Regions from separate parts of the Homo sapiens genome. Here regions 1, 2 and 4 are each linked to region 3. Evidence: promoter capture Hi-C in 16 types of primary human blood cells and fetal thymus (Javierre and others, 2016). All regions are on one chromosome and are shown on one strand. Each heading gives the region's core, a stretch centred on a gene start or on the middle of the fragment in contact. The rest is flanking DNA. Distances are from core to core; before and after follow the strand shown.

Region 1 (2,700 bases), core at 13-2,512, 170 kb after region 3:
ACTGCAGCCTCTGTGGGACCTTAGTACTAAGAGTCAGAGAATATCAGGGAGAGCAGGTGGGCAGTAACAGGTTACATTGAAGGCATAAGCTAGATGCTGTGGCCTCCACTGGCACAGCTGGTCCTCTTGTTACAGGATGGAGGCTGTGGGGCAGATGAGAGCATAAGGGAGGTTTGGAGCTAAAGGGTGGCTGAGGTGCAGATGTCCTTTCTTCCCATCCCTGTTGAATTTCACCTCCATTTTAGGGAATGAGACTTAAAATCTCAAACATCATCCCACTACAGGCATTAACAATGGACCCTCCTGGCAATGTTTATACATTTGTAATATATGTTTATATATTAACCCATTGAAGAATTAAAATTATCATCATTATCCTCTTTTACAGGAGGAAATGGAGACAAAGAGAGCCAAGATTCAAACACAGGAAGCACAACAGAGCCCATGCACTTAATCTTCACACTGTGTTGCCTCATCCAGCCTGAATGGTTAGGGTCAATCTAATTATATATGTCATTCCAATAAATGACTTTTGTATAATAAAAGATAACGGATACATAAAACCCTCAGACAGTATTTTAAAGGCTGGAAAATTTGTGAATACAATTGCTGTTAGTTCAACCGGTGACAAAGAACTCAGTATCATAAACAGCATGTTAGGAAAAAGTTTCAACTTATCGAGACTACAAGTCATCTAATGACTATCAGTTTATTAGGAAATTATCAAAAGAGTTTGATTCCCAGCCAAACTGAATCCCTGCCTCTCTCCCATGTAACTCAGTTCCAAATCAAATGCTCAGTCCAGTACATCTGAGCCTTTTGCCAGCAGAGAGGGGGGCCCGAATGGGTTGCTTACTATGAGGCCACTTGGGGGGGTTTTATGGACTGGAAACGGGAAGGAATGTGCTTAGTTTGCCGGCTGTTTTGGAGAATGCGTGATTTAGGTTGGCCTGGGACCTTGGCCTGGGACTAATTAGAAAGCTTGGCCCGGGACCTTAGCCTAGGACCTCGGCCGGGAATAATTAGGGGCTTAAGTGATGATTTGTAGAGGCTGCTTTGCTTGGCCCTAGACCTATTAAGGAACTGAAGTGAAAGCTTGGCTCGGGACCTTGCCCAGGACCAATTAGGGGCTGAACTTGTGATTTATAGAGGCTGGACTTGCAGTTTAAAAAAAGGAAAGAAAAGTGCTTACTGGAACCCACTGGAGCCTACTGTGCCTATGCCTACAAAAAGAGAAGGAACTTTTTCCTGGGAGCCCGCTGACTATACAAAGAACAAAGGCATTTCTATTTCAGGCCTTGTTCCCTTATTTGAGTGAGCTGGAGGTTTGTGCAAGTTTTTATCTCAGAAAGTCGGAGGCTCTCCTATTTGTGCAGCCACCGGCATGTTTTCAGGCGCAACCTCCGGTGCTAGTTTGCCCGAAGCTTGACTTTTTCCCAGGCTGCTTTTTTGTTATGTGGGAATGAGGCACTGACCCGTGGGGCCAGGGGCTCTCCAGAGACACTTCCCTTGCTATCTACCAAGCTAACTAACTCCTTTCAGTTCCCCCTTAGGGTCTCCACTCCTAACTGCTGTTAGGGAGATTGGGTGTTGAATTTTTTGGCAATTTTTTGCTGGAAAGGGGTGTTGTGTGGGGAACAGCAGCTAAGGTTTTTGCGGGGCGGGCGGGGGCGCAGGTTGAAGGGTTTTTGGAAGAAAGGCGTATTTATGCGTGGTTTTATTGCATTGCCCTTTGGAGCTTGATAGCCTTTAGGCGAGAGGAAACAATTTGGGTTACAGCATTGAGTATACAAGGCCTAAACATTAACACAGGCATATAAGAAAAATAGGTGTTAGGAGCTAACTAGGTTTAAAATGAAGACTGGAATTTATTAAAAAGGGATTGTAGCTAACTGGGACTGGAGTTTGTGTTTCTTTTTGTTAATTATTTTAATTTGGTTTTTAAGCTCTTGTAAATTGTTTTTTCTTGACTGAAGAGACGAGGAGAAAAAATAAAAAGCAACTGTAATCTCCCCGTCGGGAGAGCGAACCCCGCTCTCCCGCGTGACAGACGGGGATACGCACCACTATACTAACGAGTACAACCGGGAATATTGCGTTTTTTTTTGGAAATTGTCTTTTAGAAAAAGATATTCCTAAGCTACCAGCATGCTTTCAGGGAAAGTCGCTGACTGTTGGCAAAGTTATATTTCTACTCTCTAGACCGGCACACTACGGTAGAAACATAATTCGAGTCCCACATGTCATTTTTAATAGTCACATTAAAAAGTAAAAAGAAAGAGGTGATAATTTTAATAACAAATCCTATTCTTTAACCCAACGTATGCAAAATATTACAAGTAATCAATATAAAAATATTAATTGGCTGTTTTTTTTTTTCTTAGCTAGTCTTCAAAAATCGCTATGTATTTTACACTTAAAGACGGCACATTTCAACTCGGAAAGGAAATTTTCTTCGGAAAAAAATCCGTATTTAGATTTCATAAAATTTACAATTGAAAAAGTAGATTCAATAGCCACGTTGTTTCAAATGCACTGAAACCTTCTCCAATGGTTGAGTTATTAAGTATCCATTTTAAAATTTTCACTTATTAATTTTATTTCAATTGATTTATTTACTAAGACTAAATTTGAAAATGCAGTTTCTTAGAGAAACTAGCCAAGTTCACGTGCTCAATAGTGCGTGGCTAGCGAATGAAC
Region 2 (2,700 bases), core at 201-2,700, 220 kb after region 3:
AACATTCAGGCTCCATCTTCCTTTATGTTTTTTTTTGTTACCACATGTACAGTAAAGGAACAGGCGACATGGCCCAGCTCAGGAAGAAGACCCACTTGCATAATAAAAGATTAGAGTGGGAGCGGCCAGAAATTTGCATCCTAGGCAATGGCACACCTAGTCCTAACCAGTTTTTTGCACCCTATGCAAATGGTAGACCTAGTCCAACCAATCTTTAATGCCCCATGTAAATCAAACACTGCCTCCTCACCAGGTATCTATAAAACCCCCTGCATTTCACTGCAGATCTGGAAACTGATTTCTCTGGGACCCCTCTCTCCAGCAGACAGGTATTCTTTTTCTTTCACCCATTAAACTTCTGCTCTTAACCTCATTCTCTGTGTGTTCACGTCCTTGATTTCCTTGACTGTGAGACAACGGACCTTGGGTATCACCTCAGACAATGAGGCCATTTCATTGTGGGGGCCCATCTAGGATCCAAAGTAGATTCATCAGAAGGGTGAGGATAGGAGCAGACTCCAAATATTTACTTTCATTTCAGGGCCTTCTGCCCTCAATTTTAAAATTAAACTAAAAACTGAGTGTCTGATGGCCAGTTTAAAACCTTTAAGGTGGCCACGGATCTCAAGACTCAGATGACACACTTGGTGGGAGGATCTTGGCAAACACCCCAGTGGCCTCAGAGTGCTGGGAAAGTTCGCTCTGTTTAAACCAGTTTCCTTTCATGGAGATCCTAGCTGTCATGTTGGGCTGGAAAAGGTCCAGAGGCAACTGATGGTTCCAGGCAAGGGCCACACCCCTGTATTACCTGAAGGCTTCTGGAGTAACCCAAGCCTCCAACTGCCACACTGTTGGGTGTCAGCAACAGGATCTCCAGCTTTTCCTATGGCAATTTTCCTGCTTTCTTGTCCGTAATCACCATGTCTCTTATCCAGTCTCTGTATGCAATGCTGTGGGAATTCATACAGCTCAGGAAAATAATCCTGTTAGTCAAGATCAACAAATGCCATCGTAACCAGGAATATAGCTAAAGGGAATGCCATTTTTGTGATTTTTCTAGGAACAAAAAGTTTCGCACCACCACCCCACCCTTGCCCCCAGTGAACATCTCTCTCTCTCCCCTTGGTTTGGAGAGCACATGGTATTTAAACAGCGCCACCTAGTGGAATAGAAATCCTCTCCATGAGCCATCTTGGCAAAGCCCTTTACTGAAACACTCTATTTTCTAATTCTTCTCCCTTTTTGCTCCCCTCTACTAGAGACCAGGCTGTATGTCCCATCTATGAATAGGAAAACTCAACAATGAGAGAAAAATGTCCTCTAAAACCAAATTTTAGCCCCAATACTGTTACATCAGCAGAAAAACCGCCATTCGGTCCCTACAATCTTTTAAGACACCTATTTTCCTCCAACTAAAATGGTACTTAAATAATAAGGAGATTTTATGTCCAGAAGTTAACCACAACCACTGCCTAAGAATAAATGCTTTATTCTTAGGCCACAATAGCAGATTATAGAACTCAACTAAGTACATTCCCTTCATTAATGGGCCTTGCCAAATACAACTGTTACATAGTCTTTCCTGAGGTCTATCTATCGGGGAGCCATACGGATCACACAAGTCTAGGAAGTCAAAGGGAAATCACAAGCGGACTAGAGTCACATGGGTGAGCATGACTAACTCCATCATTTGGCTCCTCTGGATCCATGGCTGCAGGTCATGCCTGCATCCATGGGTGGCACCTTTAGTGGATGCCAGGGCCCAGGGAACCAAGGAGGGAAAACAGTTGGGAGCATGCCCCCACTGTCTTCCTCTCAACCTTGGGCCATTCCAAAGGAAGGAGGGAACAAAGGACTCCTTTTGAGTGTATTCTAAAGCACTGAGACTCCTTTGACCCTGAAACTCTGCTTTTGCACAAGGGCAGGGCCTTCTTATTAGACTTTTTCAAGCACTGCACAATCGACCCAGTTATTTTAGTAGTCATATCAGGCAGGCCCAAAGGGAATGATTCCCCAAAATTAGAGAAGCAACTCCTGGGGGAACCATCTGAGGCAGTGATTGAGTGTCCTGGCCCTTTTTGTCCCCCTTATTCAGAGCCCCCTCCAACATTTTCATCAGCTCCTCCAGTTCTACCATCTCCACAACTCCCCACTCTCCCAACTTTGTTCTTACCCCTACATGAAATGCCCAATGAAGGTGATGCCATCTTAGGGTTCAAGTTCTCTTGTCATTACAGGACCTTAGGCAAATGAAGGGAGACTTAGGCTGATTCTCTAATGACCCTGGTAGGTATATATAAACTTTCCAAAATTTAACTCAGGTGTTTGACCTCACATAAAGGGACATTATGCTGCTCTTAAGCCAAACCCTAACCACAGCTGAAAAACAGTCAGCTCTACAGACAGCAGAGAAGTTTGGAGATGAGGAATATGTCTCCTATAGTAGGCCAAAAAGGAAAAGAGAAAATATGGAAGGCAAAGAAATAGGGGAATCATCATTCCCAATAGGAAGAGAGGTGGTACCTCTTGACAACCCTGAATGGAACTCCAGTGACTCCAAAGATGAATGGAAAAGGAAACACTTTTTAATGTGCATATTGGAGGGCCTACAAAGAACTAGAGCCAAACCTCTTAATTACTCTAAACTGTTCATGAATAGACAAAAAGCCAGATGAGAATCCCTCAGCCTTCATGGAAAAG
Region 3 (2,842 bases), core at 208-2,707:
AACTCATTTCAGGTAGAGATAGTGGTATAAGCAAAGCCTTAGAGACAGGCAAGAGTCTGGTGTGTGAGTATGTAAATATGAACTGATTGAGATTTATTAGAGCATAAGTTACAAGGCTGAGAGGGTAAAAGTAGAGGCTGCTTGGCCTTTTGTGCCATGATAAAGAATTTGGGCTGGTAAACTTGAGTTTTAGAAATTACTCTGTCTGCAGGGTACAGAATTCATTTCAAGAACACAAGGTTTGGACGAGGAGATTAGTTAGGAATTTACTGGAATAGCCCAAGTCATAGAGGATGAGGGCTTGTCCTAAGACATTAGTGATGATCCAGGCAAGGGACTGCTTCTATGAACAATTTAGAAGGTAAAATTGGCCAAACCTAATGATTGATCAGATTTAGAGAATGAAAAAGAAGGAAGAGTCTGGGTTGTTTCTGAGGTTTATGGCCTTGTAAGGGTAGATGCTGGTGTCATTAGCTGAGATCAGAAAGTGGAAAATGAATTAGATGAGGCAGGGGCCAAAAGGACAGATAAGTTCAACTCTAGTCACATGGTGCAGAGACACTTGTGAGATATGTAGGTAGATATGTCTGGTATGAAGCTTGATATTTGAATGTGAAGCTCAAAAGCATGGTTAGGGTTGGGGATATGATTTGGGACTCTTAAATACAGAGTTATAGTGGCAAAAATTAAACAGACAAATAAGCTCATGAAGGAGATTGTGTAAAGAAAGAGGAGTACAGAGGCAAGGCTATAACTATAGAGAACACTAGTGTTTAAGGGGAAGAGAAGAGAAGCTATTAAGGGATCAAGAGAAGTCCATGTAGTACAAGGAGAAAATGGTGCCATGGAAGCCAGGGTAGTAGAGAATGCAAGAAGGAGTAAGTGATCAACAGAGCCCAGTGCAGCAGAGAAGTCCAGCAGGATATGAACTGAAAAGCATGCCATAACCCAGTCAATATAGAGATCGTTGTGCCCTAGACAAAACCAATTCCAGTGGAAGCCAGGCTGCAAGCATTGAGGAGCGTGTGAGAAGTGAGGAAGTGGAGATAGCAAGTGCAAACTATTCTTTTAAGAAAACTTGTCTCACAAGTGAAAGAAAAGAGTTGAGATTAGAGCTAGAGAGGATATCATGATCAGAGGGGACTTTCAGGATGGAAGATTTTTATATTCAGAAAGTAATTCAATCCTGTACACCAAACTTTCTTATACCTACCCTTCTTATTCCACCTGAATACTGCTTCTTTGGAGGGCCAGAATTAGTCCATGTTTCTTTCCTTCTGGTCCTTTCTCCCAAGGTAAGCAAAGCTCCATTCCCACACCAATATTCAAATATTTTACTTACCCAGTAGCATCTGGGCCACCCAGAGCACACCAAGGGAAAGGTAGAGGGCCCAGGCCATGAGGACACAGCCCAGCTTCATGGTGACTGTGTTTAGGTCTCCTGCAACCCCAACACTGATTTTCTTCAACATGAAACCTCTCAGATTAGAAAAGAGGAAGTAAATTTAACTGTCTCATCTCCTTGCATCTGGGGTCTGTTTTCATTTTCTAGTTTGTAATTGGCTTTCATCATTCAGATTTGGCCAACACGCTTTCAGCATCATCTGCACCCTTAGGGCTATGACAAAATGGTAGCACTCTCAGCTGTTCAAGAATTTACTCACAGAGCTCAGGGGCCTGTCAAAGCATGTCATTGTCTGATAGCCAGCTGGCCTTCATGTACACTCTGGGAAAGGTCAGTGCAACAACCACCCTTTTCACTGGTGATGCAACTGGGGACAGAAGGTGGGATGTTGTTTGAAGGCCAATAGAAAATCACTGGAGAATCAATGATGAGAATTCAAATGTCCTGCCCATTCCAACACTTATATGTTTCTAGTGACTAGAAGGTAGCGAGACAGAGAAGGAAGATTAGTCACGGCACCAAGTTAGATATCAGATTAGTCTCTAGTAGGCTCTGACTATCCAAAGCCCACACAAATTTGCATGCAAATTTCTCTAGACTCGTGTCAGCTCTCTATTTCTGGAGCATGACTAAGTCTGCTCAGTCTCAGTGGAAATATGAGTACAAGGCAGGGAGAATCCACTGGGAAAGAGTAGAGGAAAAAGAAAATCTATTCCCAGAGGATCCAGCAGTCAGCTCAGGGCTTAGGCTCATAGCCAAAGCTCAGGCCACTGATCCTGAGGAAATTAGAGATAGGAGGCATCCGATATCTTGAGAAACCTGAGGAGACTCAGGAATAGGAGCAATATAGAGGCTACAGCCTCTCCCTTCCGTTCCAGATGGCCTCCTGGGAACCATTGTCCCTGCCTCTGAATGTTTGCTATTTGTTTGAGGCCTACTTAATGGTAGGGCCCATGTGTCTTTTCACAGTGGCCACATTCCTCCCCTTTCTGTCATCATAACACCCACCAGGCCTCCAGTAGGTTATTTGGAGATGAAATGAGCCATCAGAAATGGGGTAAGGTAGGCCAGGCACTGTGGCTCATGCCTCTGTAATCCCAGCACTTTGGGAGGCCAGGGTGGGCGGATCACTGGACTGGAGGTCAGGAGTTCAAGACCAGCCTGGCCAGTATGGTGAAACCCCATCTCTACTGAAAAAAAAAAAAAAAAATTAGATGGGCATGGTGGTGCATGGCTGTAGTCCCAGTTACTTCAGAGGCTGAGGCATGAGTATCATTTGAACCCAGGAGGCAGAAGTTGCAGTGAGCCAAGATTGCACCACTGCACTCTAGTGTGGGTGACAGAGCGAGACTCCATCTCACAAAAAAAAAAAAAAAGAGAGAGAGAGAAATGGGGGAAGGTAGTTTGGTCCTCCTTGAAGGCAGAGAGAGGGACAGT
Region 4 (2,700 bases), core at 170-2,669, 140 kb after region 3:
CCTCAGCCTCCCAAGTAACTGGGATTACAGGCGCCTGCCGCCACTCCCAGCTAATTTTGTAGTTTTAGTAGAGACTGGATTTCACCATCTTGGCCAGGCTGGTCTCGAACTTCTGACCTCAGGTGATCCACCTGCCTCAGCTTCCCAAAGTGCTGGGATTACAAACATGAGCCACCACGCCCAGCCAGATTTCTCTCCTTATTTATATATATATATTCTGCAAAGGCAATTTCACAATGGATAAATCTCTGCCCTACCTCCCAGGCTAGCAAGTACTGAATAAGAAGCAAAAGTACTCTGCCACTGAAGAGAGAATCTCTGAGGTGCAGGCACATACTTTAGAAAGTCCTAAAGTTGGGGTAGTGCAGGAAAATTGAGAAAATACCATCCAGGAGTACCGGCGGCTCTTGGTCTACTGAAATGCTGCCTCCACCCAAGCACAAGATAACACTAGAAGAATTTGAAGGTAACTATGGCAATAATAAAACCCGAACCCAGCTCAACTCTTGACTAGATTGGCCCACACTAAGAGCTTACCAGAATAAGACGGGTTCTCATTTCTAATCATAAATGCAATTTACCTCAGTTCCTACTGTCCCACATATAATGTCCAGAATTCAATAAAAACAATGAGCCAACACAGAAAAGCAAGGTTTAAAAATCCTGTCAACAGACAATGCAAGCAATAGAAACTGCTAAAAGATGATTCAGATGTTGGTACTATCAAATAGGGAATTTTAAAATCAAACCATTAATTACAACCATATTTAACATGTTAAAGGCTCTAGTGGAAAAGGTAGACAACATACATAAACAGATGGGGAATTTCAGCAGAAAGATAGAAACTATACGAAGAGTCAAATGGAAATATTAGCAAATTTTGAAACAGAGTAAAAGAGAAGAAGAATGTATTAGGCAGGGTCATCAGTAGATGCCATACAGCTGAGAAAAAAAAAATCAGTACTTTGAAAATGGGTTCATAGAAATTACCCAAACTGAAATTCAAGGAATAAAAAAAAAGAAAATAGAACAGAACACCCAAGAACTGTGGGACAATGTAAACTGGCCTAACATATATGTAATTGAAATCCCAGAGAATAGAGAAAGAATGGGAGAGAGGAAACATTTAAAGAGAAAATGGCCAACAATTTTTCAAAAATAATGGAAGTTATCAAACCACAAATCCAAGAAGGACAAAGAAGCATAGGCAGACTAAAATACACACACACACACACACACACACACACACACACACACTCCTAAACATATCATATTTAAACTGCTGAAAATCACAGATAAATAGAGCATTATTAAAATGCCCATAGATCTTTATTTTATTTTATTTTATTTCAGTTTTTGAGATGGAGTTTCGCTCTTGTTGCCCAGGCTGGAGTGCAATGGCGCAATCTCAGCTCACCACAACCTCTGCCTCCTGGGTTCAAGCAATTCTCCTGCCTCACCCTCCCAATTAGCTGGGATTACAGGCATGCGCCATCACGACTGGCTAATTTTGTGTTTTTAGTAGAGATGGGGTTTCTCCATGTTGTCAGACTGGTCTCAACTCCCGACCTCAGGTGATCCACCCCCCTCGGCCTCCCAAAGTGCCGGGATTACAGGTGTGAGCCACTGCGCCCGGCCAGATCTTTATTTTAAAAATTTTGATTGGAGAGCTAGGATGCCAGTGCCACCACTCTAGCCAGCCACAAAGGAGATAATCAGAAGTTATATTGGCGGAAATGTCAAAATATCTAAATCTTTCTCTTGGCCAACTAAACTGGCTGGAAGATTTTAAAAGAAAAGTTTTCTAAGATATGAAGATAAGCAAAAGAAGAGTACAGAGCCTAGTTTCTAATGCACGATAATACTTTGCTTCCAAAATAAACGGGAACCCAGACCTTGTTTTCTGATCTTCCCTTCAAGACCAAAACCTCAGGCCATCTCCTCATCTGCAGTTTTCCTTATCTCTCCCTTGGCAGAAGAAGTCATTTTTCTTTCTGAATCTCAAAGTTTTCTTCCCCGAGTTGTCCTAAATGTTGCATTGGGCCCTATCACTGGAAATGCCTTTTTTACTCTAAGCCCAGGGAGAACTCAGAATTCTCTCACTTCTCTAAGAAGTGATTTATGAACCCCAGGGGCACTATGCAGTCTTTTACAATGTACCCTTGCAGTTTGCAGGGCCAAAATACTCTGAAGTCATTCACCATCTGTTTCATCACGACTTACCTGGGTTCCCCTCCTGGTGTCCCTCTGATGACTCCCCTTACTCTCCCTGAACACTCCTCTGTCTTCACCTGTCCATTAAATATTGGTGTTTGTTCAGCTTTCTGTCCTCTACATAATTCTCTATCAATAATTTTCTAAGTGAGAAGAGACCCCCTCAAAGGGTGCATCAGAACTGGAGGGGGAAGGAGAGGTAGAGGTGTAATTTTAAAAGCCTTTTTAGCATTATAATACAATTTAATACTTGTAAACTTGACAAACTAGATATGAAAATTAAGATAAAATTAAACAAAGTATGTTTATGTTCAAAGAGGTTGAAAATGAACTTTAAAGGGCTAAGAAACGTGATCCTGTATATGTCTTACTACTTCTAAATGATTTTATCTACATTCTTGGCTTCCTCTACACCAGTGGTTCTCAACAGAGTTGGTTTTGCCCCCCGCTCCCAGGGGACATTTGCCAATGTTTGGAGACACTTTT

Evidence for each region. Contacts are between HindIII fragments. The CHiCAGO score rates a contact against its expected background, and 5 or more counts as called.
Region 1: a fragment that was not itself captured here is called in contact with the fragment with the promoter of FCRLA in region 3 in 4 of 17 cell types (total B cells, naive B cells, M1 macrophages and 1 more); the score reaches 14.4 in total B cells.
Region 2: a contact is called between a fragment that was not itself captured here and the fragment with the promoter of FCRLA in region 3, in 15 of 17 cell types (naive B cells, total B cells, erythroblasts and 12 more). The highest score is 13.3, in naive B cells.
Region 4: a contact is called between a fragment that was not itself captured here and the fragment with the promoter of FCRLA in region 3, in 3 of 17 cell types (naive B cells, total B cells and total CD4 T cells). The highest score is 7.2, in naive B cells.

Annotation. Positions count from the first base shown.
Region 1 is chr1:161,531,506-161,534,205 of GRCh38, reverse strand. No RefSeq gene overlaps it. Among named protein-coding and RNA genes, the nearest start is that of TRG-TCC2-6, 1.7 kb to the right of the region's middle. The HindIII fragment of the contact is 329 bases long and covers 1,098-1,426 here.
Region 2 is chr1:161,485,652-161,488,351 of GRCh38, reverse strand. No RefSeq gene overlaps it. Among named protein-coding and RNA genes, the nearest start is that of TRG-GCC4-1, 6.4 kb to the right of the region's middle. The HindIII fragment of the contact is 3,026 bases long and covers 1-2,700 here.
Region 3 is chr1:161,705,844-161,708,685 of GRCh38, reverse strand. FCRLA (Fc receptor like A) reads right to left here and starts at 1,457. Exons shown (of 5, transcript NM_032738.4): 1 at 1,343-1,457. The coding sequence starts at 1,421. RefSeq lists enhancers at 982-1,161, 2,702-2,842. The HindIII fragment of the contact is 3,109 bases long and covers 601-2,842 here.
Region 4 is chr1:161,568,761-161,571,460 of GRCh38, reverse strand. No RefSeq gene overlaps it. Among named protein-coding and RNA genes, the nearest start is that of FCGR3A, 20 kb to the right of the region's middle. The HindIII fragment of the contact is 5,347 bases long and covers 1-2,700 here.